Regions from separate parts of the Homo sapiens genome. Here all the other regions are linked to region 3. Evidence: promoter capture Hi-C in human tissues and cell types (Jung and others, 2019). All regions are on one chromosome and are shown on one strand. The core of a region is centred on a gene start or on the middle of the fragment in contact, and the rest is flanking DNA. Distances in the headings are between cores, read along the strand shown.

Region 1 (3,124 bases), core at 272-2,771, 270 kb after region 3:
ACTTCAGTCATAACACAGATACCTAATTTGCATAACAATTCCTCTGATAATTATATAGTCTCACAGTTATCACTTCATTTTGGCACCAAAACTCTGCTAAATATTTTCCATTAAAAACTTGAAAGTCAAAGTACAATAACATAAAGTAATAAGTGATTTCTACTATATAAATTAATTTAATAAGAGATGAACACAAAATGAAAATGCTACTATGGTAATTTCAAACACGTGTCACCATAAGTGACATTCAGGTGGTACTATGCCTCCGCATAAAGAATCATGTTAGATAATACTTTTGGTTAAACCTCAGATGATGTAAGGCTCTCTGTGGCCAAAAAGACATAATAATAAGGTATTTCTAACACTGAAAGTAAACATAGTAGAGGTTATTCTTATTCCCCAACATTAAGATTTCAATGTTTTCTTTAAATCTGCAGCATACACATCTATCTTTGAGGAAGCACTTATGTGTTCAAGCATTTATTTCAAAGGTCAGATAGCTAAAGTCACTGTGGTACCACAGGACATTCTTCCACATGTCTTTTTCAAATGATATCAATGAGCTAAGGCTAGTTTTTAACCAAGTATCTTTCTGAATGTCATACAGTTTCAGTAAACTATAACAGAGTCAATAATGTAAAAAATTAGCTCACATCATTGGTTATACCACGTGTGACAAATTATAACTACACATCCCTACCTTGTCCTGGTTCTCCACCTAGCTCTTTAATTCCTCCCCTTCTGTTTGTATTCTTGCTCCTATTCCCAACTATTGGCATTCTCTAAGCTCCTTGATCTGATTCTTTTCTCTGTATCCGCTTTTTCCTTTAGGGAAATATTTATTTTTAAAATTCAACTGTCCCATCTAGGCAGTACACTCATCTCTTCCCTTCTATCATGCCATTCCTTTTCCCAGAAACCTTACTGCCTTCTACAGGAATCCATACCAGTTTGCTGGATTTCATAGGCCTTCACCCTTTCTTTCTCAATTCTCAACATGAAAGTTCCCTCTAATCAGAGAAATCTCCCTTCTGTCTTCACACTTCTCTAATATTTCCAGCCTGTGTGCCTCAGACCTCATATCATTTCCATACACACACAACATACCCTTCCCCCCTCCCCATTACCAACTCAAAGCCTTCTATTCTGCAAATGTACCAGCCTACCCCACCTCCTTCATACAGCCTTCCTTGGCTATGCCAGTGCTCAGGAAGCTCTCATTTCTTTGAACGCAAAATTGAGTGTCATTTGTGATGTTCACCTGATTCACCTGAAAAGTCAGTTTCCTTGAGAACTAGTAAATATTATTTGTTTATCGCTTTCTAAAGCTTTCCTCTCAACCATTTCTATAAACATACAACATTTCTAAGCTAAAGCAACCTTAACTGCAATTGATAAAGGGCTCGAGACTATTGCTTTCCATTTGTTTCTTTCTCTACATTTTTACAACAAAAGAAAGTGTAACAAGATAGTAAGACTGATTCCCTAAGACACAGGCTGAAATCTTACAAACATACTTTACATAAATAAAAATAAATAATCTAAGAAAAATTGATAGTGTATCATTATTTAGGAGTAATAATTTTAGATTACTATCATCTCTAATATTTGTTCTAAGTCACAATATGATACAAAGTAAATAAACCTGTACTTTCAGATATAAAAAGAAATGTGAAGATTTTAGTAACCATTAAACAGTAATTCACAAAATATCAAATCCTTTGGAGACCTCTTGTGGTTAAAGTTAAGAATACCAAAAACCCTAATATTTTAAGATAGACACTCCACAATTCCAAGCCATTCTTTTGCCTTTCCTCACACAGCTTTAACATATTATGTCTTCAAAATTAATAAAATATTATTAACCAGTAACTGACAAAAACTGCTGTTTTTACCTTTAGGTATATAGCATAAGAAAAAAATGGGGTACTTAGTCTGAGATACAAGAAACTACTTACCAGTGTTTAAAACAGACAAGAAGATATCACCAAAAACAAAACAAATTTTGTACTTGCAAATTTAATACTGTATTGTTTACTGGTTGTAAATATGGAAACAAAGAAGGTCATTATATAATGACAAAGGGGTCAATTCAGCAAAAGGATACGATAATTGTAAATATACATGCCTGAGGCAGGCGGATCACTTGAGGTCAGGAGTTCGAGACCAGCCTGGACAACATGGTGAAACCCCGTATCCTGTCTCTACTAAAATACAAAAAAAATTAGCCAGGCGTGGTGGTGCACGCCTGTAATCCCAGCTACTCGGGAGGCTGAGGCACGAGAATCGCTTAAACCCGGGAGGCAGAGGTTGCAGTGTACTGAGATCATGCCACTGCACTGCCCCCTGGGTGACAGAGCAAGACTCTGTCTCAAAAAAAAGAGAGAGAAAAAAAATAGCAGCTGGATACTTCAACACCCCACTTTCATCATTGGACAGATCTTCCAGACAGAAAATCAATAAAGAAACGTCAGACTTAATCTTTACTACAGACCAAATGATCCTAATAGATATTTAGAGAACATTTCATTCAATGGTTGCAGAATACACTTTCTTTTCCTCAGCATGTAGAGGATCTGATCATTATAGCATGAATGATCTAAACATTCTCGAGATTAGATCATATGTTAGGTCACAAAACAAGTCTTAAAACATTCAAAAAACTGAAATAATATCAAGAATCTTCTCTGACCACAATGAAATAAAACTAGAAATCGAAAACAAGAATAATTTTGGAAACTATACAAACACATGGAAATTAAACAATATGCTCCTGAATGGCCAGTGGGTCAATGAAGAGATCAACAAGGAAATTTAAAAATTTCTTGAAACAAATGATAATGAAAACACATACCAAAACCTATGTGATACAGTGACGGCTGTACTAAGAGGGAAGTTTATAGCTAAAAGCACCTACATGAAAAAAGAGGAAACATTTCAAATAAATAACCAAATGATAAACCTTGAAGAACTAGAAAAGCAAGAGCAAACCAAACCCAAAATTAATATAAAATAAAAATAAAAATCAGAGCAGAAATAAATGAAACTGAAACAAAGAAAATACAAAAGATCAACAAACCAAAAGTTAGTTTTTTGAAAAGATAAAATTGGTAAGACTTTCCCA
Region 2 (3,121 bases), core at 574-3,073, 300 kb after region 3:
CTCAGTAGCTTTTTGCCATTCATCCACGTCTATCCATGCCATCAAACAGCTTATCACCTGTAATAATGGCACTGCTTCTACGTGCCCCCTCTGTCTACTTACTTCTAATTTCCTGTGATGTGGACATGCCAAGTTGGTCATTCTATGTATAAAGCAATAATGTATACGCTCTTCTGAGACCTTGGAGTAAATGCTCCTATCAATAAAGTGAGCTTTAATGGATAAACTTTATGACTTCTATGCTTAATAACCACTATACTTAGGTGAACTGCTTCTAAGTATTAAAAGAGACTAAAAACAAAAACACCTTTTTTTTCTTGATGATCTAAGATAAGTCAATCAATATTAGCCTGGCTGAGGGAGGAGTTCATGGATCTGGGCTTTGTGGGAAAGGTGTGAAATCTTGAAAATTATAGGCAAAATTTTGTTGGCTTGAGAATTTTTCTGAAGAAAAAGGCCAACAGCTTTCATTAGAATTTCAATGACTCATATATATACATACACACATACATATACATATATAGAACCATTTCTCTAATTCAATGGTTGTCAATCACAGCTACAGATTAAAATGACTGCTTTTCCTTTAGTCTCACCTCATCTGCAGGCTAAGGTGGGAGGATTGCTTGAGACCAGAAGTTTGAGACTACAGTGAACTATAATCGCACAACTGTACTCTAGCCTGGACAACAGAGCAAGACTCCATCAATAAAAATAAAATACAAAATAAAATGTAAACTTTTAAAAAATATCCATGCCCATTTGTCAGTGAAAACCAATTAGATAAGATTCTGAGGGAAGGTTCTTAATGGCAATTTTTGTTTGAAGTTCTCCAGGTGATTCCAATGTAAAGCTAAGGTTGCGAACCAATCACTATTCTGAATTACAGATTTCAATGATGGAGCATGAGTTAAATTCCCTGATTCTGCAGTTATGAAAACCATTAAAAGTCTCAAAACAAATAGTGGATAAAGTAAAAAGCCCATGTTCATTTGGCTTACATTTGAATTTACTTTCTATCTATCAAGCTTTCAACTGAAACCTCAAAATATCTAAGTTGCCCATCATGATTTTCCACGGTAATCATGGAAACTCTAAGGAAGACTGTAAGAAACTGTGCTTGTATTAATTCTCAATAAAGAATCCCTCCAAGTCAAGGGCTCCTGATCCAGGCAATACCTCAGAATTACCTGGAAGGCTTTTGTTTTGTTCCCATACAAACCAATTAATCCCTCCCAAAACACAGTAAATCGAATCTCCAGGGATGTAAGAAAACTAAACTAAAACACAAAAGCTCCCTCAGATGATTCAGAAGACCATCCAAGTTTAGGAACCATTGCCATGAATGACCTCAGAGAACCTGACAGTACTTCAGAACCCACTATTCTAGGTAACTGGATACTCATCTATAGCAGTTACATACCTTTTGATTAATTTGACGTTTCGAATCTTCAGAAGAAACTGCATTCTTTGCGTGTAGAAGACTGATATCATCAAAATCAGTACATTTTGGCAGAACTGCAAATCTCTCCTGCAGAGATTCTGTCTGGACTCTACTTTGAGGAAGGGCAGAATCGCAGCAGAATTCTTTCAATTTTTCCAGAGACTTTGAAACATTCCTGGTCCTCAGACATTTCTTTGGCTCTTAGGCAGCAAATAAGAAGAAAACAGAACAATAGTAATTTTGGTCTCATTATGTCAATTCATAACCAGCATAGAATTTTTTAAAGAGGTAGATTCCCAATAAAGCAATGAATCTAACTATAATGTGATTTTTTTAAAAAAAGAAAGAAACACTGGGTTCAGGGTAAAGATGGCATATTAAACACAGATGCAATTTCACTCATTCCTGAAACCTCATTACTATAGTAGAGGTTTTTTTTCTTTTTTGTTTTTGTTTTTTTTTGAAGACATAAGCCCATAAGGACAGAGAGGAGAGGTAACAACTGCAAATGAGATATCTAAAGCTAGAAAGGAAAACAAATGAACAGTAACCAATTCAGCACACCTGAGAGCTAAATACTAAGTCAGTAATTAGGAAAACCAAGAGCCAACTCTAATTACAACACAAAATGCTCAAAAGACTCAGGAATTAGAGTACCAGTAGCTCTGGAAAGGAATAAAGGGAGGTTCTAAAATAAAGAGGATTGGTTCAAAGCAATTTGTTCCCTAAACCCCTACCATACTCCAAGCTCAAAGACAACTGTCCTTCCTCCACATCAGCAGCCAACTGGAGATTTCTTCCCTGGAAAGGCAAAACAAGCACAGTTGATGGAGTACTGTACCTAACCCAGAAGGACGATTAGGAACACAGACACAATGTATGCTGAGATCCACGGCCTCTCCAGAACCCAGGAAGCCAGAGCACTCCTACTCCCCTCCAGGCAGAAGCTGGGAGGACTCTTGACTGGGAAATCTTACTAGCTCAAGCGGAAAGACTTGATATTGACATCAGGGGTTTACCAAGAAAACCAAATCACCATACTCAGAAACACCATCACTTTGCCCATGATATGCTTTCTGCATGTCAAAATTGTATTCATTCTTCAAGACCCATCTCAAATCTACCTTTCCCATAAAACCTTCTGCTAATTTTCACAGCTTAAAATCATCTTTTCTTTCTCTGTGTTCCTCTAACAAGATCACATCTCCCTGTGGCACTCATCACAGTCTGCCAATTGGCAGTTTTTCATAAACAAGCAATCCATAAAAGAAGGGAAACTATCATTTTCTGGATCCCTACCATGTACTAGAACACAGTATTTCACCGTTTAGAGCACTACTATTAGGTTGGTGCTATTAAATGTAAAGGAACTGGGACTGCACACATTTATCACCTCTTACCTTCCCTATTAAAGCAAAAACACTCTGAGGGCAAGAGTTGTGTTTTGTTCATTTCTAAAAGTTTAAAATTGCTCCCAAGCTGCTTGCTAGGGCCCACTCCCACCCTGTGGAGTGTACTTTTTGTTTCCAATAAATCTCTGCTTTTGTTGCTTCAAAAAAAATAGTTTAAAATTTTCCCTATTTATATTTAAACCTCTTCACAGGCTTTCATTAGATCTCCTGTGAATTTTCTAGCCACAAAAATTTAAATTTGACTCTTTTCTCAAATGTATATTCA
Region 3 (3,332 bases), core at 259-2,758:
TGGAAACATACAAACTTTGTGTTTGCAGGAATGAGGGGCTGGGATCACTAAGACTTAAAGGGTTTTTCTCCCCCACCCCGCGACCATGAGCACACAGCAAAACTAATAAAATTATGACCCAGAATTAAAAGGTCGCATTCATTTTCAAAGCATTCATTTAAAAGTACAGAAGCGTTCTTTAAAAATGCCCACATTTTTAAACATAGCAAGAATGTGGCTACCAAATATTAATCCTGAGGAATATGAATACACATTTACCTTCATAATTACACCCAGCAGGTCAAATGTTAGCAAGGCCAACTGACCGAAATCACAAAGACTGATTGAAAATGACCAACAGAAAGTGTCTGTCCGGCTTGGGAGCCCCGCTTGTTCCCAGCCCAACCAGTGGTCAAACATCTGCAGGCAAAGAAATCTACACGCGCCAGCCGGGTATGGCAGAAATCAAACTTTTCCAAATAAGTTAGTTCCGTCTTGCCAATCTACACCCAACAGGTGTCAATACATGTCACCAGACAAAAATCTGGCGAGCCAGGTCTAGAGAAGCAATAGATGGTTGGCAGAGAAGCTGAAACGACTCGACCTCTACCAGGGTAATGAAAGCAAGTCGGGCCACTATTCTGACTGATCACTTGGCAGTGGGGTGGAGGGGTATGGAGATGGGAGAATCCCTGGATGAAGATCGGAAGGAGCGTGGAGATGTCCCGCCACTGGTGACGCGGGGGGATTTCGGAGCATAGTCCCCGCACTCTTTCACGACCCCCGACCCCTGATCCCCGGATTAGGACGGCAAGGGAGTGCGGCGATCAAGGCTGGGAGACCGCGGAGAGAAGGCGCGCGGTACCTGCTTGTCCAGCGCGTCTCGGACGCCTCCCTGCCCGGCGCCGGCCCTGGGTGGCGCGGGCGTTCGTTCGCAGCTGCAGCCCTCCAGGAGGTACATGCCCGCCGGGCGGCAGCTCTGCTCGCCCTCGAAGTAGAAGAGCACATTCTGGTAGAGGGCGAACCACTTCTCGTGCCAGCGGCTCGCCTCGGCCGTCTTCTTACTCAGGAAGCCGCGCTTGGTGCCCTCCTTGCGCGCCAGAAAGGCCAGGTACAGGGCGTGCCCCTCGTTGTAGCGCACGCTCTTCTGCATGGTGCGGGTGCGGAGGGCTCACGGGTGGCCGCCGGTCTCACCCCTGCCTCGCGGCCATGGCCCAGCTGGCTCCCTCGAGGGCGCGACCGCTCAGGTCCCGGCCGGCGAAGGGCGCCCCCTTTCCCCACGCCGCGCGCAGGGCACCCCGCCCGCTTTCGGGAGGCCGCGGCGCGCGGTGGCAGGGGCGCGGGCTGGGGCCGAGGCACGCTCTCCGCCCTAACCACCACCCTCCCGGCCGAGCCCCCGGAGCCCCCCAAGCCCCCAACGCCCGCGTGGAGCGCGGCCCCGCGAGGGCGCCCGAGCCGGCCGCCGCTTCGCCCAAAGTTGCGGGAGCCGAGCCCCCGCGGCGGGCTGGGGCGGCAGCCGGGGAAGGACTGTCCTCGGGCAACGCGCTCCGGGAGACAGAAGGTAAAACGTCACGTGGGAGCTCAGCTGTAATCGGCTTGGAGACCGATTTAAAGGGCAAAGTCGGCGCGGCGCCGGCGGTGGCGCAGCCCGCTTGCCCCGGCTCGCGTCCCTCCCTCGCCCGCCCCGGCCCGGGCCGCTGCCTCTGCTCGGGCGCCCGCCGGGATGGGGCGGATCAGGGAGGTGGAGGCGCCCGGCCGCACCACACACCCGCTCACACGCGCTCGCACACTCGCGCACAACGCGCGCACACACACACGCACACCCACACACACGCAGACCAGTACATTCACCCAGATCCACAATGCACACACTCAGACGCACAAAAATACACTCACAAATGCACACAAACACAATGCGCGCACATATGCACAAAAACACACGCGCACACACTCATGACACACAAATACACATTCTCACAACGCTCACACTCAACACACAGTCACAACGCACAAATGCATATAGACAAATACACCCACAATGTGCGTTCCCGCGCACAAAAATAAAACCCACATTCAGATACACACTTAAGGAGCTACACACATGCACGCAGTGATATGCTCACTTACACACACATTCACACACAACCCACACATTCACTCAAACCCACATTCAAACATACATTCATACACACATTACACTCATACAGTCACACAAACAGCACACATATACTCACACGTTCACAATCATACAGACTCATAAGCAGATAATCAAACACACACACAGATGAACACACATGTACATTCACAAATTCATCCAAAAATACACACAAAGCACTCACACACGTATTCGCACGAATCCACACACTTTCACAAACCCACTCACACATACACACACACTCACATGCCACATCCATAAGTACGTTCCCATGGCAGTAGGTAGAGTCACAGAGTGGCTTTGCATAGCCCGCATCCTTGGCTTTTCTGCTTGTACCTGCATTGTAGTATTTAAAACTGCCGGTAAAGGTTAAGGAGAGTGGCCCAAGTGTTCCCGGAAAGGCATCAGATGCCGAAGTTCTTTCGGAATGCCTGTTATTTCACAGTGGTAAGATGCTAAATTTTAAGTGCCGAGTTTTCAACCTGGAAAAAAATACCCAAATAAGGGACACTTTGCTGCCCAGGGCAGAATCCAACCCCAAAGGCCAGCTGTCACAGGCTCATCGTTTGTAGGACTGGATTCATTTGATTAACAAATCTGACAGGTACAACCAGAAAACCAAGAGCCACCCCCCCGCCCCAACCCCATGCTGTAAAAATGTAAGTGGAAAAGAAATAATGTAGCCAGCAGCTGTGAGAGAAAGCCAGTGAAACCCCCGGGGAGGGCCTATATTTGATTCTGCTATACACATTTTTTATTTTCCCCAGTCATTTATCACTAAAACGGAGTGCCATCATAAAATGTTTATTGTTAAAAGTAAATAATAATGCTTTTCTGGGTGATGAGTCTACGACAATACACCTGTCTTGTACTGCCAGTTGTGTGTTCATGAATTGGTAGCCCCAGGGGTTCTGCCTGTTTCATAAGTGCTGTTTCTGCAGAATATTTTAACTCTGCCTCACTGAGCAGCTGAGTGGGGTTTTTTTTTCCTTTTACCTTTTTAAAAAATTTTCACTTTTAACAAGTATATAGTAGGGAAATTGCCATTTTGAAATTACAGCGTGAGAACAGTGGTCATTTCTCTTTACGTTTTTAAAAATATCTAAAGGACAGTGCTGTGCTAAATTGGGTTTAACCCAGCTGGAAGTTTGCATTGTTCTTCAGAGAAGACACAAGTACAGAGACAGTAAGTAAATGC

The links. The method cuts DNA at HindIII sites, captures the fragments that hold promoters and counts their contacts. A contact is called where the count stands out against the background at its distance.
Region 1: a contact is called between a fragment that was not itself captured here and the fragment with the promoter of RASGRF2 in region 3, in 2 of the 25 tissues and cell types used here (hippocampus and mesenchymal stem cells).
Region 2: a contact is called between a fragment that was not itself captured here and the fragment with the promoter of RASGRF2 in region 3, in 1 of the 25 tissues and cell types used here (hippocampus).

Annotation. Positions count from the first base shown.
Region 1 is chr5:80,685,570-80,688,693 of GRCh38, reverse strand. The region is part of intron 8 of MSH3 (mutS homolog 3); the gene reads right to left. Among named protein-coding and RNA genes, the nearest start is that of DHFR, 32 kb to the right of the region's middle. The HindIII fragment of the contact is 8,779 bases long and covers 1-3,124 here.
Region 2 is chr5:80,663,666-80,666,786 of GRCh38, reverse strand. It overlaps MSH3 (mutS homolog 3), which reads right to left. Exons shown (of 24, transcript NM_002439.5): 3 at 1,424-1,644. Among named protein-coding and RNA genes, the nearest start is that of DHFR, 10 kb to the right of the region's middle. The HindIII fragment of the contact is 3,007 bases long and covers 320-3,121 here.
Region 3 is chr5:80,958,539-80,961,870 of GRCh38, reverse strand. It overlaps RASGRF2 (Ras protein specific guanine nucleotide releasing factor 2), which reads right to left and starts at 1,508. Exons shown (of 27, transcript NM_006909.3): 1 at 845-1,508. The coding sequence starts at 1,132. RASGRF2-AS1 (RASGRF2 antisense RNA 1) reads left to right here and starts at 964. Exons shown (of 4, transcript NR_105015.1): 1 at 964-1,090. RefSeq lists an enhancer at 684-1,405. The HindIII fragment of the contact is 17,436 bases long and covers 1-3,332 here.